Regions from separate parts of the Homo sapiens genome. Here region 2 is linked to region 1. Evidence: promoter capture Hi-C in human tissues and cell types (Jung and others, 2019). All regions are on one chromosome and are shown on one strand. Each heading gives the region's core, a stretch centred on a gene start or on the middle of the fragment in contact. The rest is flanking DNA. Distances are from core to core; before and after follow the strand shown.

What was found. The method cuts DNA at HindIII sites, captures the fragments that hold promoters and counts their contacts. A contact is called where the count stands out against the background at its distance.
Region 2: a fragment that was not itself captured here is called in contact with the fragment with the promoter of A1CF in region 1 in 1 of the 25 tissues and cell types used here (aorta).

What each region holds. Positions count from the first base shown.
Region 1 is chr10:50,884,332-50,887,059 of GRCh38, reverse strand. It overlaps A1CF (APOBEC1 complementation factor), which reads left to right and starts at 1,433. Exons shown (of 13, transcript NM_014576.4): 1 at 1,433-1,479. The HindIII fragment of the contact is 7,461 bases long and covers 1-2,728 here.
Region 2 is chr10:50,849,286-50,852,151 of GRCh38, reverse strand. All of the region lies in intron 3 of A1CF (APOBEC1 complementation factor), which reads left to right. Among named protein-coding and RNA genes, the nearest start is that of A1CF, 35 kb to the left of the region's middle. RefSeq lists a silencer at 2,097-2,297. The HindIII fragment of the contact is 3,059 bases long and covers 1-2,866 here.

The sequences.
Region 1 (2,728 bases), core at 184-2,683:
TCTTTATTGGACTGGGCAAACTCAAAGAATTCCCCACTCAATTGGGAACCATGCAACCCCAGACTGAGCTTTCACTAGGAAACCATCAGGGCTACTTTGTGAGGGAATCCCTTCCCAAGAAGGAAGTAGAGGGATGTGTCCCTCATTCAGCTATCTAGCTGGGTGGGGCATAAATGCTTTCTCTAGGTCTAACATCAGGGGAGCAATTCTGGGGTAAAACAATTGTTCCTGGGGTGTTTTTGTTAAACTCTATCATCCATTGCTATGGGAAAATGGTAAATCATTTCATGTTTGAGAACTGAAATAATTCCATGTTTGAGAACTAAAAACTGTAAGCAGAACTAGCATTCCAACAGTATCTTTTATCTCTTCTCTTACATATTCATAGATGTGCTTAATTGATGGATCTTCCTTTGCGTCTATATTATAGAAGGATTGCTTGTTTTGTGCTTTTCTATAGACAAAAATGCTCTCTTAATAGTTGGTTCCTAGAAAATTAGACTCCTTTTACTAGAACTAAAGGCAAGTAGGGGTATCCTCTAATTCTAGTTTTGGAATGTGTGGTTTCCAAGCTCTTAAACCAAAATTTACTCAAAATTAGGAAGGTTTTGGTTCTTCTTCCTTTTTTAAATGTGGGCTTTATTACCCTTAGGGATTTCTTCTGTAGACTACAGCTCTTACCAGAGAACTCAGAGTATAATGTTTGTATTTCTGAAAGCACCATTTCTCTATTTTTCAAGAAACTCAGTTACCACTGAGATTTCAGGCAATGAACAATAGCATCAGCTATCATATAACCCCAGTATGTAGCTGATTATTGTGCTTCTCACACAGTGGCCTCCTCTTAAAATCTAAATGAGCAGCTTGTATACAAAGAAGTATGCTTTCCCCAACCTGATCTGGCCTAAATCTATCTACTTTGTTATATAAATGCTTTGTGTATTTTCTGTTTGTAAGCCAGCATTTATCTACGTACTTGACCTAAAACTCCACACTTTACTCCATGTAATATAGTGATATAAAAAGTGTAAAACAAAGAAATATTCTCCTAAATTACCTTAGCTATAATATCACTTTGACATAGTAAAAAACAAAGGAAGTAACATAAAGGAAAGCTTAGGTATCCAATTGCAGTGAGTTTTTACTTTTTAAATATATCGTATAAGCCAATAAAATATCTTCAAAATAATATTTACCCCAACATTTTTACAACATTTATTTTAATTTTATAAACAAATAACAAAGATAGTTTTAGTAGATTATATCTGGGCTGTAGTGACCCAATTATCTGGTCAAAGGGCTGCATGGATGCAAGAGACAGGGTGAGTTAAAGTTTAACTCCCAGGAATTGTAAACCAAACCTAAAGCCACTGAACCTTTGGAGTTTGATATGACGATTAGAGCATAACCCGAGTGACACGTTGAATTCGCCATAATCAAGGAAACCTTTTCCGGGTGGGGATCTCTGAAATTACTCAGGTATGATCCATGTGTTTTGCTTTTTTCTATTTCAACTCTGTGAAACTGTGTATTGTGGTATCAGTGGGAATGCAGTGAAAACAGCTTTTACCCTCTTCTGTTATCGAGCCTAATTCAAAGAATTATCTAGCTTGTTTTTAGACTAATGAAACAACCAGAAAACAAAAGAATATATTGGAATTATTATATAATCTCTAAATGAGATAGCTGCCAGGATTTAATAAATTTCTGTAGACTTACCACGGAGGGTTCAAGAGTGGAGCCAATGTTGTGAGAAGTTTATTTAGCTCTAACCAGACAGCAGGGAGAGTTGTGGTTGAGTGCCTGTCCCAATCCTAGGACCCTGAGAAACAAAAATATAATTAACAAAAGAAATAGTATTAACATCACCAGCAGATTTTGAGTTCTGTGTGTGGGTCATAATTCCTATCATACTTTAGACTTCATATATTCAATTATCTCCAGAGCTACTACCACCATAAAAAAGAAAGTCTTGGTACAACTCTTGCGATTCCGCCTGCCATTATCTTGCTAACCAAAGGAATGTTTAAACTATTCACTTTTGATTCTGACCAAAAAAATATTATGGAAAATGACTGGTTTTCAGTGTGTTAAATCTGAACCTTGGAATGGCTAATTATTATATTGTTTCCACAATTTGGGCAACTGTGCTGAGGTGGATATATTTTCACATATTTTTTTTGTGTACTCCAAAAACATTATAATGGTATTTTAGCTAAAGAAAGAAATCAATCTGGACATTTACCAAAAATATCCCATTTTTACCAGAAACCCCCTAAACTCTCTGACTTTTTGTCATGATTACCTATGTAAATTCCAAGAAGAAAGGATTCCAAACTAAACAATTTTATTTACTATAGGACTTTTCAGATATGTATTGTATATCTCCAAGAAGATGAAGAACACAGCATTATTTGCACATTGTGCAGGATTAGTGTTTTATAGATCGTATTTTGGCAAATTCAGCTCTAGTTATAGTTTAGGAGCATCAAAAAATGTGTTGGTCTGCTCTGAAATTTTCTTTATAACGTGTGCTATGGAGCATGCAATGGGAGCACAGGTCTGGAAATGACAGTGATATCACTTATTTGTCAAAGCAGTAAGGTTTTGCCCTGCTAAATACAGAGAAAGAGACAAATGACTTATAAGGTTCATACTTTCTGGAATAACATTGACTCTGCCCATTTCAGACAACTCTTAACATTTTACTGTTCTATTTTACTATTTA
Region 2 (2,866 bases), core at 204-2,703, 35 kb after region 1:
TTTCTATTTTATCAGCTTAAAAATTGGTGTGACCTCATGACCCAAATATGCAGAAGCATGAGCAGGTCTTGTGGACTTTGGACTGCGCACGCTGACAAATTCACACTTTTTCTTAAAGTGCTATTCATTTGTGAGTACTGATTGGCAACTAAAATTAAGTGACTCTTCATCTTCAGAACCTGAAAGCTTAGCATTATGAGATGCAAAAGACAGCTTTCAAACAAGCTAGGCAAAGAAGAAATTATTGAGATCACAGTTCCTTGCAATCATGAATTTGTATAGGATTTCAGCAGCTGTGATCCTTTGTAACATTGTTAAAGAAGTGCTGAGCAGGGAACCAAGATGATGTTAAATGGCACATTGTCCACATCATTAAATAACATCCAATCCCATATAGAGAGAATTATTCCACTTTCAGTTCTCTCTCAGGCTTCCAGGTGAGGAAAGTTAGTTGTTGGAGGTATGATTTAAACACCTCTTCAGGCCCTGCTAACCTTTTTAAGTCCCGAGAGCAGAACTAGAGTGCAGAGCTTTTAGTAGACAGTGTCTATGTAGAAGTTGACCATGATTTCCCTTGTTTGCAATTGTTTTTATAATCACCGACCATTTATGGGAAATGATACTGATATTCCACTTATAAGAACAATATATTTTCTTTTTGATATAAGCTTATTTAAGTAACAAAGTGAATCAATGCATAAAGTCATTAGGTAATTAACAGAATAGATGTCAATTGGACATGGAATTGAAGATACACTGATTTTTAAAATTACAATATCCTCTTAAGGCTCCAATTGACTAACTCACAAAACATCCTATGAACATTTTCCTCCATTAAACATGATATCAAAGTCAGCCTTCCTTTTACAAGCACCCTCACACCCCTACAGGACTACTGCAATCACCTAGTCAACCCTCCTACTCCTTCATAGATGAAATAATTAAAGTCAGAATAGATTTAGTGCCTTGCCAAGTCCCTCAGCTTGTCAGAAATTAAAATTCACAAGAGTGTTGTAAGGAGAAGAATGATTATACAAAATTCCTTACATGCCTCAAACCCGGTGCATTGGATGGGATTATGTTTGGCATATGTTGAACTAGGAAAAGATAGAAGAGCAATTACCCAAACCAAATGTTCTTTATTATGTCTTTATCTGCACATGGGAAGTTTTGCATAACTTAATCAGATCTAGCGGCCATAATAATAGTTAATTCAAAAAGGCAAATTGTAAGTAAACAAAAAAGTTAGATGGGCCTATTGAATAAATTACACATTCTTTAAGGATAAAAGCTCCAAACGGATTAAGGAATGACTAAAGCTGTCACCTAATTACTTCTTGAAAGGAATTTAGAGGTTCCTATAGATGGAAGCAGTGTGTCTGGGCACATGCCCAGAGCCAGAAGCGAGCATGAGCACAGCAATTCCTGGCCTCAAAAAAGGAAATAATGCTTTGCAGTCCATCATTTTGCAAACTTTGCTGGAAAAGGTAAGCAGAGGGTCTTAGAAGTGAGTTGGCATTTTACTCGTTCTCTTTTACAGAAACACACACACACACACAAATGCTTTTTGTTTTCTAATTTTGAAAAACACTCGAATAAGTTTTCTGTTTTGTAATTTTGAAAAACACTGACAAAATGTTTTCTGTTTTCTAATTTTGTCTATTTTCAAATTCAATATTCTTATGAATGACCAAAATCTTACATTATAAAAAGCTTTGCAAAACACATCATTTAAAAAAGCCTATTTGCTTTTGAATGCTTCAAACGTTGATACTGAATAATCCTTAAACATAAAGGGAAATTATTAAAAGATATTATTAAATGCATCAACTTGAAAACATAAATTACTTCTGCTTCCATAAGATAGTTAACAACTTCAAGTGAAATTGGGATTAATTTCCTTGGAAATAGACTTTCAATGGTCAATCTTCCAAAGTGAAACAGGAAGGTGACTCATAATTTACTCATAGTTGTTTCCTTAGAAGAACCATATCATACATTTTTTAAAGATAAAATGTCAGGGCTTTGTAAAAAGTGAAACCAATAAATGAAAGTCAAGAGCCAAGAGCCATTTGCATCTTTCTTCATGATTTTTGCCATAGATACATGCCACCAATATTATTTATTTAGAATTCATTAAATCTCCTGGCTAACACAGTGAAACTCCGTCTCTACTAAAAAGTACAAAAAATTAGCCAGGCATGGTTGCAGGCGCCTGTAGTCTCAGCTACTGGGGAGGCAGAGGCAGGAGAATAGCGTGAAGCCAGGAGGCGGAGCTTGCAGTGAGCTGAGATTGCGCCACTGCACTCCAGCCTGGGCGACAGAGCGAGACTCCGTCTCAAAAAAAAAAAAAAAAAAAAAAAAAGAATTCATTAAATCAACTCACTATTTTTAGTCGTTTATGTTAAAAGCAAACTTTTTCTCACATATGTAAGAAACCCACAGGTTTTGTGTGCTAATTATACTTTTTCTAATGTACATTAAAATAAATGCATAATTATTAAAATAAGAAATACTGACCTATAAACCATCTAATATCATCCTCACATATTTTGAGAAACACTAGGCTATATGATGATAAAGCTAAATTAATATTTGATAATGTTCATATCGTAGCTTTTCCTGTCTTTGTTTCTAATCTACATTTCCACAAAATTTCAACAACTCATTTAGTCTTTATACACAATTTTTATTATTCTTCCTACTTTAGGAACATTATATCTGGCATTCAAGTTGCATACATCTTGTAAAAATTGTAGAAAAATAGCCAATAGAAATAATGCCAACTTCTACAGTATATTAAGCCAAATAAATTCTGCTTTCTAAATTCCAGTCTAAAAACAGATTTTACCAACATGAAGTCACT